Regions from separate parts of the Homo sapiens genome. Here regions 1, 2 and 3 are each linked to region 4. Evidence: promoter capture Hi-C in human tissues and cell types (Jung and others, 2019). All regions are on one chromosome and are shown on one strand. Each heading gives the region's core, a stretch centred on a gene start or on the middle of the fragment in contact. The rest is flanking DNA. Distances are from core to core; before and after follow the strand shown. Region 1 holds the start of SLC9A1 (solute carrier family 9 member A1). Region 2 overlaps SLC9A1 (solute carrier family 9 member A1). Region 3 overlaps AHDC1 (AT-hook DNA binding motif containing 1). Region 4 holds the start of TMEM222 (transmembrane protein 222).

Region 1 (4,526 bases), core at 657-3,156, 170 kb after region 4:
CTCCCAAGCAGCTAGGACTACCAAGCACAGCTAATTTTATCAGACAATGGTATTTATTTTTATTTATTTATTTTTTTTTGAGACAGAGTCTCGCTCTGTTGCCCAGGCTGGAGTACAGTGGTGCAATCTTGACTTACTGCAACCTCCGCCTCCTGGGTTCAAGTGATTCTCTTGCCTCAGCCTCCTGACTAGCTGGGATTACAGGCATGTGCCACCACGCCCGGCTAATTTTTTTTTTTTTTTTTTTTTTTTGAGACGGAGTCTCGTTCTGTCGCCCAGGCGGGAGTGCTGTGGCGCGATCTCCGCTCACTGCAAGCTCCGCCTTCCGGGTTCACGCCATTCTCCTGCCTCAGCCTCCCGAGTAGCTGGGACTACAGGCGCCCGCCACTGCGCCCGGCTAATTTTTTGTATTTTTAGTAGAGACCGGGTTTCACCGTGGTCTCGATCTCCTGACCTCGTGATCCGCCCGCCTCGGCCTCCCAAAGTGCTGGGATTACAGGCGTCAGCCACTACGCCCGGCCTAGACAATGGTATTTTAAAAAAGCTTTCCAGTGATTCCATTGTACAGCCATGATCCCTTGAACCTCACCAATTTCAACCAAACTATAGGTTCAAATTTAAGTTCCACTACTTAAAGCATGCCACTGTTGTGGGTTGAATTGTGTCCCGGCAAAAGAAGTTGAAGTCCTAATGCCCAGTGCCTATGAAGATGGACTAATTAGGATGCAGTCTTTGAAGATGTTCAGGTTAAGATGAGGTAATTACGTTGGATTTCTAATCCAATGACTGGTGTCCTTATAAAAAGGGGAAATCTGGCTGGGGGTTGTGGCTTACCCCTGTAATCCCAGCACTTTGGGAGGCCGAGGCGGGTGGATCACCTGAGGTCAGGAGTTCGAGACCAGCCTGACCAACATGGTGAAACCCCATCTCTACTAAAAATACAAAAATTAGCTGGACGTGGTGGTGGGTGCCAGTAATCCCAGCTACTCTGGAGGCTGAGGCAGGAGAATCGCTTGAATCCAGGAGGCAGAGGTTGCATTGAGCTGAGATGGCGCCACCGCACTCCAGCCTGGGCAACAAGAGCCAGACTCTATCTCAAAAAAAATAAAAATAAAAATAAAGTGTGGGCGGGGAATCTGGACGCAGAGACAGAGACACCAGGAGAACTCCATGGAATACCAGATAGTCCTAACAAACCACTGGAAGGTAGGAGAAAGGCATGGGACAGATTCTCCCTCATAGCTCTCAGCTGAAACCAACCCTGCCAACACCTAGATCCGACCTCCAGCCTCCAGAACTGTGAGACAATCAATTTCTGTTGTTGCAGCCACCCAGTTTGGGGTGATACTTTGTTACGGCAGCCCTAGTAAGCAATACAACTACTTGCATAGTAGCCAGGGGACTCTCTTCACCTGTTTCCTCATCTGTAAAAGTGGAATTGTAATAATGTGCCAGGGTGCATTCCAAATAGTTTACACGGATTGTCTCAGTCATTACATCATCCCTCTGACATAGTCACTATTACTGTCTCTACTTAACAGATGAGAAAGTTGTGAAACAGGTTAAGTAACTTGCTCAAGGTCACACGGTAACTAAATACATAAACTAATAATACATTCTTCACAGGATTATTCGAAAGCCCTTATGAGACTGCAGATGTGGACGTGAAATCGTTTTGTAAGTAGTCGGCATTTTACTCGCGTTAGTGAGGTTCTCTGTATATTCAGGACTTTTTTTTTTTTTTTTTTTTGTCATCTCTGACTCTCCTTCCTCTTCCTACGCGATACTTCTTTCCCTCGGCGACAGGGGCCGCTGCGCTGGGCGGGTGCCGACGGTCTCTCTAGCCCGCCGCACCGGCTGCTCGCTGGTGCCTATAAGTGACAGCGCCGGGCTCAGCTAGGCTTCAGTCTGCTGCCGCCGGGGCCGGGGCTAGGGTTAGTTCTGGAGCTGGACCAGGAGGAGCTGCAGCTGGGCCGGGGCGGAGCGCCGCGTCGCGCCAGGGCCGCGAGGAGGGGCGTGTTGCTGCTGGCCCACCGCGAGCCGCCCCCAGCCCGCGCCGAGGCGCCTTCCCGCCAGGCCGCCTGCCTTCCGCCTCTTTCCATTTCCCCGGAATCTCAGCCCGGCGCGCCTGGACCCCTGCCCCTCTCTGGGTGGAGAAGCTCCCGGCCGCTTCCCGGTTTCACTCCTTCTCAGCCTGGGCTCCCAGCCCCCTCTCTCCTTTTCCTGGACTGGCTCTCACCCCCTTCGGTCCCCTTCCTTTAGCTCAGGCTCCCTACCCCTTCCTTTAGCCCACAGCCCAGAGTCCCAGCTCCTCAGTCACTTTCCTCAGCCAAAGGTCCCAGCCTTCCTTCTTCCTTTCCTTTGCACTATCCCTATCCTGCCCCTTCCTCTATCCCTAGGGCTCAGTTTCCCACATCCGTCCTCCCCCTTCCCAGGCCCGGAGTTCCAGACCTTTTGGTCTCCTTTCGTGGTCGTTCCTGGGTCCTTGCCCCCTTTCCCCACTTTGGAGTTCCAGATTGCAAACCCAGCCTCCCTCCACCCCCAGAAAATTGCTTCCATGGAAATGCCTCTCTAAAACATGAACTTTTCCTAGAGACTACGCCAGTCTCTCTTCCCACTTGCTGACCCTTTGCTACCTATGTGCCCGGTTTTACTCTCATTTGGGTAAGGTCGAGGCTGGCTCTGGAAGCAGCACCATGGTTCTGCGGTCTGGCATCTGTGGCCTCTCTCCACATCGGATCTTCCCTTCCTTACTCGTGGTGGTTGCTTTGGTGGGGCTGCTGCCTGTTCTCAGGAGCCATGGCCTCCAGCTCAGCCCAACTGCCAGCACCATTCGAAGCTCAGAGCCACCACGAGAACGCTCGATTGGGGATGTCACCACCGCTCCACCGGAGGTCACCCCAGAGAGCCGCCCTGTTAATCATTCCGTCACTGATCATGGCATGAAGCCGCGCAAGGCCTTTCCAGTCCTGGGCATCGACTACACACACGTGCGCACCCCCTTCGAGATCTCCCTCTGGATCCTTCTGGCCTGCCTCATGAAGATAGGTAAGTCCCGTTTGCTCCGATGCTGCGGCCGCCACCAGACTGGTGAGCTTCTTGCCTCATCTCGCACCATTTGAGGCTGTCCAGGAGTAAGGATCTGAACTACCCCCATAAAGTAGGCAGTCTCCATCCTGCCACCTTGGTCCTTCTCAGGCTCCAGTTCTGTGGCTTCTGATCTGTGATCTGAGGCTTCCCAAGATTGGAGCCAGCACTGTGCACAGAAGAGAGCAGGATTAGAGAATGGGATGCCTCTGATCCTAGGTCCCTTCAGTAAGGCTTCCACGACTGGCAAGTCTCCTCTGGCTGGGCCAGACCCCCAGGGGAGCCAGGCACCCCGCTGTGTGTGAGACAGAAAGGAGTGTCTTCTGGCGAGTGGCACATTCTGCTCTGTCAACAGCAACCAGTGCAATTTATGACAGGCTTCACTGGAGCGTGTTCCAGGATGGAGTATATTTCTACTTGGCCTGCTTGAGGAGTTTAAGCATAGTGGAGACCTGGGCACAGGAAACTTACAAGTGTGGTGGAACACAGGGGATCCCCATATTCCCACCTTTCCTTCATCTCCAGAATGTTATCTGTCAGCTTTGCTTGTCCAGGCTAGTTAGGAGCCCCTGAGTCAATTTCCGGCCCAGGAATGCCATACTTTATAGAATCTGTGGGACAAGGGGCCCTGGAAATTTCTGAAGTCTGTTTTGGAAGTGGAGGGAGAGTAGAGGAGGTTGAGGCTTGGTCTGACCCCAGCTCACCCCCAGGTCGCTGCCTGGCTGTGTCTCAGGGTGCTGTCTGGCCTGCTGCTCAATCAAGTAGATGAGGTAGATGGGGGAGCCTAGGGATGTTCAGGCCTGAAGAGACTTTGAAACCTTCTTTTGGGGAGAAGGAAACAGACAACTTATTTGCTCTCAGAGTATTGGTCTCCCTGCTAGGCCTGAGCACTCTGTTCTGCTGAGTGATTGGGGGAGCTTACTGGAGCCTACATTGCCCAGAAGTCCCTGAAAGTGGTGTTCAGGGGGACTTTGACAACTGCCTTTGCATTTTCAGCTTGCCCCCAGCTGGCTGTGGAAGGCATGAGGTCCTGGGACTCTGCTGTCCCCTCTGCCTGAGATTTGGGTTTGGGAATTTGGCAGGAAACCTTCCAGCTCTCCCAAGGACATGCAGGAGCTGAGCGGTGCTGCCGGGCTGGTGTGAGGCAGGCTCTGGGACATGCAGCGGGAGGGAAGTGGTGCCTCTAATTTGACAGATCCAGGAGCTGGGTTCCTGGTGCAGGGCTCTTGTGCCAAGCTGGTCACAGTAGCAGAGCCTTACATGGAACTAAGCCATCAGCACCTATACCTTGATGGCAGTTAGCTTCCTGGAGAGAAATCAAGGACTGGACAAGGGGAACCATGTGTACTGATTCTGACATAAATGCATGACCTTGAATAGCTGAGGCCTTTTTCTGCAGGTCTCCCTCACCTGTGAAATGGTTAAGACTCTCAATTTGA
Region 2 (4,567 bases), core at 1,779-4,278, 190 kb after region 4:
CCCCAGGCATCTCCCCTGCCCTGCTGGAGGGAGGCATGTACACCTTGTGCCAGTGCCATGTGTGGGATCACACGATGGGCCCTGCCCAGTCTCAGCAGCCAGCACAGGCCAGGCGGAAGTGGGCACTGACAAAGGCTTCCTTATCTCCTTCCTGGGCATGGGGCACTTCTATGGGGTGAACTGGTTGGCAGACAAGTAGGCAGGCAGGCAACCTCTCAGCCTGCCTGGAGCCCTTGGCCCTTTGTGCTCAGCTTATCACCAGTGGGCTCTAGAACCTGTGCCCTGAGGACCAGAGTGCCAGCAGGAAGCAGTTAACCAGGCCCGGCTTGAGGGCAGAGCTTGGCTTCTGGGATCAAATACCAGTTTGGTTGTTTCCTGGCTGTGTGTCATTTGAGCTAGTTCATTAAGCTCTGAGCCTCAATTTCTCTACTGGAAAATTGAAACAGTAGTGTCTACCTCATGGCATTGCTGAGGCTAAATGAGAAGGCACAGGGCTTCGTAGTAATTCTCCCTTCCCACAGTGGCATGTGCTGGAGGGCTGCACTGTGTCTCCTGAGGCATTGCACATGGGTTTTGAGCAGAGGCCTGCAGGCTAGACCCAGTCTGGGGAGCTGCTGTCAGTGGAGCTCCATTTCCCATTACTAGGGTGCCAAATAGCTCCTGCTTCTCTCCTTGCAAGGCACACACAGAACCAGGGCACACTGGTACTGCTAGGGATCTTAGAAAGACCAGCAGTTTAGGCCGGGTGCGGTGGCTCACGCCTGTAATCCCAGCACTTTGGGAGGCCGAGGCAGGCGGATCACGAGGTCAAGCGTTCGAGACCAGTCTGGCCGACATAGTGAAACCCTGTCTCTACTAAAAATACACAAAAAATTAACCGAGTGTGGTGGCGGGCGCCTGTAATCCCAGCTACTCAGGAGGCTGAGGCGGGACAATCGCGTGAACCCAGGAGGCGGAGGTTGCAGTGAGCCAAGATTGTGCCACTGCACTCCAGCCTGAGCGACAGAATGAGACTCTGTCTCAAAAAACAAACAAACAAACAAAATGAAAGACCAACAGTTTAGAATGGGTGAGTGACCTGCCCAAGGTCACACAGCAAAGGAGTGACAGACCTGGCAATAAACCAGGGCTCCTGCTCCCCACACCCACCATTTGGTCCAGAAAACTGGGGCTCAGAGCTGCAGGCAGCATGGTTGGGGCCATGGCTCTGGAGTCAGACCATTTCTCTCTGCCCCGGTTTCCTCAGCTGTAGAATGAGGAGGGTGATCCCTGTGTCAGAGGGCTGCTAGGAGAATCGTGATTGAAGTATACAGAGCATCAAAGTGAGGCACTCAATAGAAGGTAGTTTAAAAAAAAGAAGTGGGAGTGGAATGGGGGGGTTGGCACCATGTTCCAAGCAAGGACCAGTTTTGGAGTGGACCATCCTGGGTGTGTGTGCCAGCTCTGCTACCACTTTGCTGTGTAACGTCAACCAAGTTCCGTCCCCTCTCTGGGCTTCATCCTTTGCATCTGTAAAATAGAGGGGTTGCACTGGATGGTCTCAGAGGGCCCTCCCTCTTCTAATCTCTGACTTCTTGCTGCCCCTCTTCTCCCACAGGAGAGAGCTGACCTCCCATTGCTGTTTCTAGAGCCCTGGGCCTTCCTGGCACCAGGACCAAGCCCTGCAGCTGGCCGTGTCCTCATCTTTTCTCTGCAGTGTCCTCTAAAGGGCAGCCTCCTCTGAGCATGCTCAGTTCTCCTATCCACTCTACATCTCGTGGCTCCTAGAGGCCTGAAGTGACAAACTATCCCCAGTGTGGTGGGAGAGGAGGCAGGGAGAGGCCCTCCAAGCATGCCCTGTCTCTCCCACCACACAGAGCCCAGCCAGCTGGATCGTTATCAGAAGTGTATGGGAGACCCTTAGGGGACCCCCTTGAGATAGAGGATCCAGTATCAGGAAAGCTCACCCATCTTGCTGGTATTGTGCAGGAGGCAGTGCCTGCTGCCCATGGAGCCTTAATGCTGTGCAGTTGGACAGCTTCCCCCTCAGGTGCCTGTTTAGGAGAAGCTCTTGCCTCCCTAGTGCTGCCAGCTTGCCTCTGGGACCCTGCCGCTGCTGGTTTCTGGGAATCTAGATCTGCACGGGAGTGTCTGGCATGCGTGCGTGCGTGCATGCATTTGTTTGTTTGTTTGTTTGTTTGTTTATGGAGTTTCCCTCTTTTTGCCCAGGCTGGAGTGCAATGGCGTGAGGATCTCGGCTCACTGCAACCTCCACCTCCTGGGTTCAAGTGATTCTCCTGCCTCAGCCTCCCAAGTAGCTGGGATTACAGGCATGCACCACTACGCCCGGCTAATTTTGTATTTTTAATAGAGATGGGGTTTCACCATGTTGGCCAGGCTGGTCTCAAACTCCTGACCTCAGGTGATCCGCCCGCCTTGGCGTCTCAAAGTGCTGGGATTATAGGCATGAGCCACCACGCCTGGCCTTTTTTTTTTTTTTTTTTAAAGACAGGGTCTCACCCTGTTGCCCAGGATAGAGTGCAGTTGGCATGATCTCGGCTCACTGAAACCTCAACCTCCCGGGCTCAGGTGATCCTCCCACCTCAGCCTCCCTAGTAGCTGGGACTACAGGTATGCACCAGCCATGCCCAACTAATTTTTAAATTTTTTGTAGAGATGGGTTTTGCCACGTTACCCAGGCTGCTCTCAAACTCCTGGGCTCAAGTGATCCTCTCGCCTCGGCCTCCCCCGCTGCTGGGATTCAGGTGTGAGCCACCTCCCCTGGCCTGGGCATATATTTTTGTTTTTGCTTTTTTCTGAGTGTTTCTGTCTCTGTTCTCTCCTCTTACAGCAACGCTGTGCCATAGACATTCTTTATCCCAATGTTAGAAAGGAAGAAACTGAGGTTCAGGGCAGTACCGTGATTTGCCTTATTAGGTCACAGAGAAGTTAAGATTTAGAATTGGGACAGAAACTACCTCCCTCATTGATGGACCAGAGCTCTTTACGCTGCCCGCTGCTGCCTCGTGCAAGCTTGCTATGGCACGAATGCTATTCTGTACCCAGATGCCACAGTTGCTGGCATGGACAGAGATGGTGAGTATCACAGAGCCCGACTTTGTCCAGCTGCAGAGTTCATCAGTCAGATGTCAGAGGTAGAGAGGCTCTCAACAAGCCCCCAAGGATGGAGAGACTGAGACCAAAGAGAAGCAACGGCTTGTTCAAAGCCCACAGAATGTTAGTGGCTGAGTCTAGACTGAAGCCCAGTTCCCCTGATCCCCAGCCTGGGCTTGACTCAGGCCTTTCTTTTCTCAGAATTGTAGTTTTCTGGTCTTTTGAGGCATTTGGAGGTAGGATGGAGGGGGTGCTCACCCATCCTGCTGGTATTGTGCAGGAGGCAGTGCCAGCTGTCCCTGGAGCTGAGACTAAATGGCTGTGCATTTGGACAACTTTGCCCTATGCCAGGTGCTGAGCCTGGGTGGCCAGCGCTGTCTCCCTTGACCACCTCCCTGAAGTGGCAGAATTTCATGTTGTTCCCCAGGCCAGAGCCCTCCAGTGGCTCTGCCTGGCTCAGCAGGGTGATTGGGAATTCTCTCCCTGCAGGGTATTTGTGGCCTTTCATAACTGGCCTTGGCTGAGCGCTGGATTGGGAGTCAGTAGTTCTGGGTTTGGGACCTGCCTCCGCTGCTACCCATGTGATCTTGGGCCTGTGTCTGGACCTCTCTCAATGTCTGTTCTCTCATCTGTTGCCCACTGCCAGGGCATGTTGTGAGGGCGAGAGAAAAGTCTGCTTTACAGCATCTAAGTAATGATTTCCACTCCAGTCCACTGCCATTTGCTCCAATAGAAAGCCTCTACCTGGGCTGGGCTCAGTGGCTCACGCCTGTAATCTCAGCACTTTGGGAGGCAAAGCAGGCAGATCTCTTGAGCTCAGGAGTTTGAGACCAGCCTGGGCAACATGGCAAAACCCCTATCTCTACAAAAAATACAAAAACTAGCTAGGCATGGTGGCACGCGCCTGTAGTCCCAGTTACATGGGGGGCTGAGGTGAGAGAATCACTTGAGCCCAGGAAGTCAAGGCTGCAGTGAGCCATGTTCGTACCACTGCACTCCAGCCTGGGCAACACAGCCAGACTCTGTTTTCCCTGCCCCCTCCCCCCGCAAAAAATAAATCTTCTACCTGTACCACACTCGTTTCCCTGTCCTGTCTTTCCAGATGCTGCTGATTTGCCTGCCAGGCCTTCTTGGTGCCTAACTCTCACCCTTCCTTCAAGGAAAAGGCCAATTCAGCTGGAGCTTAGTGTCCATGTGCTTAGTGCCAAACACTGGAGATTAAGTTAAACCCAAAAATATATACACAAAAGGGAAGGAAAAAAAGTTAAACCAGACATGACTTCTGCCCTCAAACAGTTCTGCTAGCTCAACAAGTCTTTATCCTTACTATGTGTCAGGCTCCGTGCTGAGGCCTAGAGAGTCAAAGATGAATAGGACAGGGTCCCTAGCCTTGCTTGCAGGTAGAAACTTGCTTGTGGTCTGGAGGGGGAGACAGACCAACCAGCTGTGCCGTGTCATCAGACTCTTAATAGAG
Region 3 (4,403 bases), core at 1,840-4,339, 230 kb before region 4:
CCAGTCCTTGCCAAGGGGGACGACCCGCTGCCCCCACGGGCAGCCCGTCCTGTCTCACAGGCCCGCTGCCCCACACCGGTCGGAGACGGCAGCAGCTCCCGACGCTGCTGGGACAACGGGCGGGTGAACCTGCGACCAGTGGTGCAGCTGATTGACATCATGAAGGACCTGACACGCCTCTCCCAGGACCTGCAGCACAGTGGTGTACACCTGGACTGTGGTGGGCTCCGACTGAGCCGCCCGCCTGCACCGCCACCCGGCGACCTACAGTACAGCTTCTTCTCCTCACCCAGTTTGGCCAACAGCATCCGTAGCCCTGAGGAGCGGGCCACCCCACACGCCAAGTCGGAGCGGCCCAGCCATCCCCTCTACGAGCCTGAGCCTGAGCCTAGGGACAGTCCCCAGCCTGGCCAAGGCCATAGTCCCGGAGCCACGGCTGCGGCCACGGGTCTGCCCCCAGAGCCTGAGCCAGACAGCACTGATTACTCAGAACTTGCTGACGCCGACATCCTTAGTGAGCTGGCCTCCCTCACTTGCCCAGAGGCCCAGCTGCTAGAGGCCCAGGCCCTCGAGCCACCATCGCCCGAGCCGGAGCCTCAGCTCCTGGACCCCCAGCCCCGCTTCCTGGACCCGCAGGCACTAGAGCCGCTCGGGGAAGCTCTGGAGCTGCCACCCCTGCAACCTCTTGCTGATCCTCTGGGGCTGCCGGGCCTGGCTCTCCAGGCCCTGGACACCCTGCCTGACTCCTTGGAGTCGCAGCTGCTTGACCCCCAGGCACTCGACCCCCTGCCCAAGCTGCTTGACGTCCCAGGTCGCCGTCTGGAGCCCCAGCAGCCCCTGGGGCACTGCCCACTGGCCGAGCCCTTGCGCCTGGACTTGTGCTCACCGCACGGCCCCCCCGGGCCTGAGGGTCACCCCAAGTACGCCTTGCGGCGCACTGATAGGCCAAAGATCCTGTGTCGCCGGCGGAAAGCCGGACGGGGACGCAAGGCAGACGCCGGACCCGAGGGCCGCCTACTGCCCCTGCCTATGCCCACGGGGCTGGTGGCTGCCCTGGCCGAACCCCCACCACCACCGCCTCCTCCACCCCCTGCCCTGCCAGGCCCAGGCCCGGTCTCAGTCCCAGAGTTGAAGCCGGAATCTTCCCAGACCCCAGTGGTCTCTACCCGCAAAGGCAAGTGCCGGGGCGTGCGGCGCATGGTGGTGAAGATGGCCAAGATCCCCGTATCGCTGGGGCGGCGGAACAAGACCACATACAAAGTGTCTTCCTTGAGCAGCAGCCTGAGCGTGGAGGGCAAGGAGCTGGGCCTGCGCGTGTCGGCTGAGCCCACCCCGCTGCTGAAGATGAAGAACAATGGGCGGAACGTGGTAGTGGTCTTCCCACCCGGTGAGATGCCCATTATTCTCAAACGTAAGCGCGGCCGCCCTCCTAAGAACCTGCTGCTGGGTCCCGGCAAGCCCAAGGAGCCAGCTGTGGTGGCGGCCGAGGCAGCCACTGTGGCAGCGGCCACCATGGCCATGCCAGAGGTAAAAAAACGACGGCGGCGGAAGCAGAAGCTGGCATCTCCCCAGCCATCCTATGCAGCAGACGCCAACGACAGCAAGGCCGAGTACTCAGACGTCCTGGCCAAGCTGGCCTTCCTGAACCGCCAGAGCCAGTGCGCTGGACGGTGCTCACCGCCCCGCTGCTGGACACCCAGTGAGCCGGAGTCGGTGCACCAGGCCCCCGACACCCAGAGCATCTCCCACTTCCTGCATCGTGTGCAGGGCTTCCGGCGGCGTGGGGGCAAAGCAGGCGGTTTTGGTGGCCGGGGTGGGGGCCATGCGGCCAAGTCAGCCCGATGCTCCTTCAGTGACTTCTTTGAGGGCATCGGCAAGAAAAAGAAGGTGGTGGCCGTGGCAGCCGCTGGGGTCGGGGGCCCGGGCCTTACTGAGTTGGGGCACCCACGCAAACGGGGCCGGGGGGAGGTAGACGCTGTGACTGGGAAGCCAAAGCGCAAGAGACGGTCCCGGAAGAATGGGACTCTGTTCCCAGAGCAGGTGCCCAGTGGCCCAGGCTTTGGGGAGGCAGGTGCTGAGTGGGCCGGGGATAAGGGTGGTGGCTGGGCCCCTCACCATGGGCACCCAGGCGGACAAGCTGGCCGAAACTGTGGGTTTCAGGGGACCGAGGCCCGGGCCTTTGCCTCCACTGGGCTGGAGAGTGGAGCCTCAGGCCGTGGCAGCTACTACAGCACGGGTGCACCCTCAGGCCAGACCGAGCTCAGCCAGGAGCGCCAAAACCTCTTCACCGGCTACTTTCGCTCGCTGCTCGATTCGGATGACTCCTCCGATCTCTTGGACTTTGCCCTCTCAGCCTCTCGCCCAGAGTCCCGGAAGGCATCGGGCACCTATGCAGGGCCACCCACCAGTGCCCTGCCTGCCCAGCGGGGCCTGGCCACCTTCCCTAGCCGGGGAGCCAAGGCCAGCCCAGTGGCAGTGGGTAGCAGCGGGGCTGGGGCGGACCCCTCCTTTCAGCCTGTCCTGTCCGCGCGCCAGACCTTCCCACCAGGACGAGCAGCAAGCTATGGGCTAACTCCAGCCGCTTCAGACTGCCGGGCAGCCGAGACCTTCCCCAAGCTGGTGCCCCCGCCCTCAGCCATGGCCCGCTCACCTACCACCCACCCGCCTGCCAACACCTACCTGCCCCAGTACGGCGGCTATGGGGCCGGACAAAGCGTATTCGCCCCAACTAAGCCCTTTACAGGCCAGGACTGCGCTAACAGCAAGGACTGCAGCTTCGCCTATGGCAGTGGCAACAGCCTCCCTGCCTCACCCAGCAGCGCCCACAGCGCCGGCTATGCCCCACCGCCTACCGGGGGCCCCTGCCTGCCACCAAGCAAGGCCTCCTTCTTCAGCAGCTCTGAGGGGGCCCCCTTCTCTGGTTCAGCCCCCACGCCCCTGCGCTGTGACAGCCGGGCCAGCACAGTCTCGCCCGGTGGCTACATGGTACCCAAGGGCACCACAGCCTCTGCCACCTCTGCAGCCTCTGCCGCCTCCTCCTCCTCCTCCTCCTTCCAGCCCTCGCCCGAGAACTGTCGGCAGTTTGCGGGGGCTTCTCAGTGGCCTTTCCGGCAGGGCTATGGAGGCCTGGACTGGGCCTCAGAGGCCTTTAGTCAGCTCTACAATCCCAGTTTTGACTGCCACGTCAGCGAGCCCAACGTGATCCTGGACATCTCCAACTACACACCGCAGAAGGTGAAGCAGCAGACGGCTGTGTCGGAGACCTTCTCTGAGTCATCCTCCGACAGCACCCAGTTCAATCAGCCGGTTGGTGGCGGGGGGTTTCGGCGTGCCAACAGCGAGGCCTCAAGTAGTGAGGGCCAGTCGAGCCTGTCCAGCCTGGAGAAACTGATGATGGACTGGAACGAGGCATCATCTGCCCCCGGCTACAACTGGAACCAGAGTGTCCTCTTTCAGAGTAGCTCCAAGCCGGGCCGTGGACGGCGGAAGAAGGTGGACCTGTTCGAGGCCTCACATCTGGGCTTCCCGACATCCGCCTCTGCCGCTGCCTCAGGCTACCCATCCAAACGGAGCACTGGGCCCCGGCAGCCGCGAGGTGGACGGGGCGGTGGGGCCTGCTCAGCCAAGAAGGAGCGGGGTGGCGCAGCGGCCAAAGCCAAGTTCATCCCCAAGCCACAGCCAGTCAACCCACTGTTCCAGGACAGTCCTGACCTCGGCCTGGACTACTATAGCGGGGACAGCAGCATGTCACCACTGCCCTCACAGTCGAGGGCCTTCGGCGTGGGAGAGCGAGACCCCTGTGACTTCATAGGACCCTACTCCATGAACCCGTCCACGCCTTCCGATGGCACCTTTGGCCAAGGCTTCCACTGCGACTCGCCCAGCCTGGGTGCTCCCGAGCTTGATGGCAAGCATTTCCCACCGCTGGCCCACCCACCCACGGTGTTTGACGCCGGCCTGCAGAAGGCATACTCGCCCACCTGCTCGCCTACACTGGGCTTCAAGGAAGAGCTGCGGCCACCGCCCACAAAGCTGGCTGCCTGCGAGCCCCTCAAGCATGGACTCCAGGGGGCCAGCCTGGGCCACGCAGCTGCAGCCCAGGCCCACCTGAGCTGCCGGGACCTGCCGCTGGGCCAGCCCCACTACGATTCCCCCAGCTGCAAGGGCACAGCCTATTGGTACCCTCCAGGCTCAGCTGCCCGCAGCCCGCCCTATGAAGGCAAGGTGGGTACAGGGCTGCTGGCTGACTTCCTGGGCAGGACGGAGGCCGCGTGCCTCAGTGCCCCTCACCTGGCTAGCCCACCAGCCACGCCCAAGGCCGACAAGGAGCCACTGGAAATGGCCCGGCCCCCTGGCCCACCCCGTGGCCCTGCTGCAGCCGCTGCTGGCTATGGCTGCCCACT
Region 4 (4,251 bases), core at 557-3,056:
TGTTTACTGTCTATCTCCTTCCACTATGACTTAAACTCTCAAAAGTCTAAAGACCATATCTCCTTTATTCATCACTGTATATTCGCATCACCTAGAACTATCTGGGAACACAGGGGTCACTTAGCACATGTGTTAGAAGAACACTGAATGAATTAATGTGCACATTTTCCTAAGATTTTATTTCACTATTTATTTTGAGACGGAGTTTCACTGTGTTGCCCATGCTGAAGTGCAGTGGTGCAATCTCGGCTCACTGCAAACTCCACTTCCCGGGTTGAGGCGATTCTCCTGCCTCAGCTTCCAGAGTAGCTGGGATTACAGGCACGTGCCACTATGCCCAGCTAATTTTTGTATTTTTAGTAGAGACGGGTTTCGCCACGATGGCCAGGTTGGTCTCGAACTACCTACCGATCCACCCTCCACTGCCTCCCAGAGTGCTGGGATTACAGGCATGAGCCACCGCGCCTGTCCCAATATTTTATTTTTAAAGAACAGATTTGGATGCTCTTATATGCATAAGTACTTGAAAACACAAAATAATTCAAGTATTTTAACATAATTCAAAAACTACGATCTTTTTAGAATCAGCAACACCTAAGGCCCCAAATGATCCCTTCTCCACATCACCACTGGCTGTTATTGATAGCGGAACAAGCTATCCCATCAGGTGAGAGTGGATAAGATGTAGTGCAAAGAGCAAGTTAGATCAGAAGACTGAGCTCTTCATGCCTTTGCTTATTGGGGTGCGAACCTGATCAAGACACTTAATGCTACAAGCAGCTCAGCTTCACCATCTGAGAAGATAACCTACCTTAGAAAATGGATGTTTAATTCTGATAAAATGGGTGTTTAAGAGCTTGGCAAACTATCCAGCACGGTGAGGAGGGGTTACGTTTATCAGCTGTCAAGGTTGAAGCAGGAGGGCAAACCACCTCTCCCCATATGAGAGCTCCTCCCAAAAGGCGCCAAGTAGTACCAGAGCACCTGCTTCTCCCCTGACAAAGGCTGATGTTACAGAAAGAACTTTGGTCTGGGAGGCAGACAACCTGGGATCTAAACCCAGTTTGCAACTGAGATGGCACGTGAGACAAAGGGTTGGACTCTCAGATCTCTGGGGGCCCTTCCAATGTTGACATCCCAGGATCTCGTGTGGTCCCAACCAAACTCCCACTCTTGCTCCCAGACCCAGCAGTATGTCTGGAATATGGTAAGCGACCAGTAAGCATTTGCTCAATGAGAGAATAAACCAGTGAATTAATAAAAATGTCTCCTCAGATCCGATAAGGGGCTCCCTCTTCTACACACTCACAGCTCGAGTCTCCCAGCCACTTGCCCTTTCCTGCTGGCCTACAACTCTCTCCCTGGCTACACCAGGTGTATTGAGAGCAGGGAGCGTGTCCCAGCCGTGTGCACAAACTGGCACTACATGGATGGCGGGGTTCTGGTGACTGGGCGAGGCGTGCGGGCCAGACCCGAGGAAAAGGCTTGCTGCGCGTTGGGGCCGGAGGCTAGCCCGGCCCGACTCCGGCTCTCCCTGGGCCCTCCTCGTCCCCAGGCGGATGCCGGAAGAGACTCACGTGAGCACCGGGATGGGCGTCCACACCACGCAGTAGGGGAAGCGACTCCGTTCCACATCCATGGCGACGCCGCCGGAGCCTTGATATTGCTTCATGTCCGTCTCGGCCGCCGTCGGCGCCTCCACTTCCGCCATCCTGGGCGGGGGTGGCGGCGGCGGCAACAAGAGCAGAGAACTCCCTTCCGCTTCCGCCATGCGGCGCGCGCCCCGCTCCGACTGGCCCCGGCTCTGGTGCCGCTCGTCCCCATGGCGTCACTTCCCGGAGATGGGGTCCGCCCCGCTTGGCCTTCCCCCGGGAATCCGAGCCGCGTTCCTCTGGGCCCGGCCAGCCCCGCCCCACTCCCTATGCGCCTGCCAGCCCCGAGTCTTTGCCGCTTATGCCCCGCGGCTGCAGAAGGGATGCTCTCAGGCAGTTCGCAGTCTAGCGCCGGAGACTTATAGAGAACTCTAATTCAGTACGCTGAGGGCTCCTAGGAGGTGTGGTACAGTCGCTATTTATTGAGCACTTCTTAGGTGCCAAGCACTTGACATGAATTGTTTCTAATCCCCATAAACTAATTAGACATCCAAATTAGGTATTCCCTCCTGTTACAGGTGAGAAACTGAGGTTCAAAAGGTGAGAGACCACGATGCAAACCCAAGTCTTTTTTTTTTTTTTTTTTTCTGAGGCGGAATTTTTTCTCTTGTTGCCCAGGCTGGAGGGCAATGGCACAATCTCGGCTCACTGCAACCTCCACCTCCCAGGTTCAGGCGATCCTGCCTCGGCCTCCCGAGTAGCTGGGATAACAGGCGCGTGCCACCACGCCCGGCTAATTTTTGTATTTTTAGTAGAGGTGGCGTTTCACCATGTTAGCCAGGATGGTCTCAAACTCCTGACCCTGTGATCCGCCCGCCTTGGCCTCCCAAAGTGCTGGGATTACAGGCGTGAGCCACCGCGCCTGGCCCAAACCCAAGTCTTATACCTCCCTTGCCCTTTTCATTCTGTGGCCCTCTCACGAGGTAGTGGTAGCATAAAGGAAGACACACACAGTTGTGTGTGCGCACGTGTGTGTGTGTGTGTGTTTTATTGTATATACAGGGAAGACTTGCTGGAAGATAGGATATTATTGAGTTGAGTCTTGATGTTTGCCATGTGGCACAGGAGTGGAAGTATGAGTGCAGCGGTACAAAGAAAGGAAGGCCGTGCAGAGCAGTGTGTGCAAGAGTGTGAATACTTACTGGAGTAAATCATAAGCCTTAGATGTGATCCAATCCCTTCATTGTACAAATGGGAAAACGGGCTCAGGGAAGTTAATTGTTTGAGATCACACACAACCATAATTAGAGAGAAGCCAGGCTCAAATGTTGGAGACTTTTGGCTTTTTAAAGGATGTCAAGACAAAGAAAATGAAGTCTACTGGGGTCTACTGGGGTGGGGAGGGGAAGTTGGGGACAGCCCAAAGTCAGAAGGAAGGCTGCCACTAAAAATCAGCCTTAAAGAAAAAAAAAAAAGAATAAAAAGAGTAATCAGGTAAAGGAAGGTATGGACAAATGCACTCAGGAAGTTAGGAGCTTCCCATTTGGGGAAGGTCCTTCTTCCACTGAATTACCCTCCCTCAATGCTGATCTATGGAGAGCTTGCTGTCCTGTTTGTAGCACCTAATATTTTCATGTTTTTTTGTGGGGGATGTCTGTCTCTGCTATAGAACTCTAAGGTCCTTGACTTCAGTAGCTGGCACAGTTCCTGGTGCAAAGCATATGCCCACTAGATGTTTACTGATTTATTAGGTGATTGAATAAATGGATGTTTTATAAAGACCTCAGAGATTCGCAGGCATGATAATGATTACAGTGGGTTAGAAAATGATTCTAACCCACTCCAAATTCTTTGAGCACGTTTGTACCTCTCCTTGACCCCTGTGCAGTGTGTGATCCTTGAAGGGCAACAACCAGCATCCAGCACAGGGTTTGGAATAGATTAGGTGTGTAGTTTACAGTTGTTGAGAATAAATTACATGACTTCTTGATTCAATCACTGTAGTTATCTAATCTCTTCTGGACCACAGGCTGTGAGGAAGGTCTGTGCCTTAGACATCTCCCTACCATGACTGTCAGCCCATAATTCTAGCACAGGGTTGCTGGGTACCCTTTAAACATTTATTGTAGGTATTGATGAATAAACAACCAAAGTAAGTCTCTCAGGGCCTGCCACAAGTTTGGTAGTACTAATACACGTACCACATTTAATCTGCCAAACTTCAATGGCTTCCCGTTGCACTTCGTATGAAACACAAATATCTTACTATGGCTCACAAAGCCCTGCACCATCTGGACCCATGCCCCTTCCTTATTTACTATACTACAGCCATCCTGGCCTTTTCTTTCAGTTCCTCTCATGCACTCCTTCATATTCCAGGGACTTGGCACACACTGTTCCCCTCTGCCTGAAATACTACTCCTATCTACTTAAAGCGGCTAACTTTCATTCTTCCAGTCTCAGATCAAATATTACTTTCTCAGCCCATCCCTGGTCTCCCAATCTAAATGAGAAAGCCCCCATTAATCTCCTGTTCTTTTTCTTCATAGCTTCTTTGTAGCTATGTACTATTTGCCTCCCCCACTTGACTGGAAACTCTATTTGTCTTGCTAACGTGTGTATACCCAATGCCCAGTATAGTGCCTAGTGCATGGTATTT

Evidence for each region. The method cuts DNA at HindIII sites, captures the fragments that hold promoters and counts their contacts. A contact is called where the count stands out against the background at its distance.
Region 1: the fragment with the promoter of SLC9A1 here is called in contact with the fragment with the promoter of TMEM222 in region 4 in 1 of the 25 tissues and cell types used here (IMR-90 fibroblasts).
Region 2: a contact is called between a fragment that was not itself captured here and the fragment with the promoter of TMEM222 in region 4, in 4 of the 25 tissues and cell types used here (H1 embryonic stem cells, IMR-90 fibroblasts, dorsolateral prefrontal cortex and 1 more).
Region 3: a fragment that was not itself captured here is called in contact with the fragment with the promoter of TMEM222 in region 4 in 2 of the 25 tissues and cell types used here (IMR-90 fibroblasts and pancreas).

What each region holds. Positions count from the first base shown.
Region 1 is chr1:27,152,505-27,157,030 of GRCh38, reverse strand. It overlaps SLC9A1 (solute carrier family 9 member A1), which reads left to right and starts at 1,906. Exons shown (of 12, transcript NM_003047.5): 1 at 1,906-3,048. The coding sequence starts at 2,697. RefSeq lists an enhancer at 512-1,011 and a silencer at 1,957-2,186. The HindIII fragment of the contact is 28,159 bases long and covers 1-4,526 here.
Region 2 is chr1:27,126,574-27,131,140 of GRCh38, reverse strand. All of the region lies in intron 1 of SLC9A1 (solute carrier family 9 member A1), which reads left to right. Among named protein-coding and RNA genes, the nearest start is that of SLC9A1, 26 kb to the left of the region's middle. The HindIII fragment of the contact is 6,234 bases long and covers 1-4,567 here.
Region 3 is chr1:27,547,491-27,551,893 of GRCh38, reverse strand. It overlaps AHDC1 (AT-hook DNA binding motif containing 1), which reads left to right. Exons shown (of 9, transcript NM_001371928.1): 8 at 1-4,403. Among named protein-coding and RNA genes, the nearest start is that of AHDC1, 54 kb to the left of the region's middle. The HindIII fragment of the contact is 6,600 bases long and covers 1-4,403 here.
Region 4 is chr1:27,319,718-27,323,968 of GRCh38, reverse strand. TMEM222 (transmembrane protein 222) reads right to left here and starts at 1,806. Exons shown (of 6, transcript NM_032125.3): 1 at 1,578-1,806. The coding sequence starts at 1,771. It also overlaps the pseudogene ACTG1P20. RefSeq lists enhancers at 751-1,297, 1,449-1,798, 1,298-1,845, 1,846-2,392. The HindIII fragment of the contact is 11,672 bases long and covers 1-4,251 here.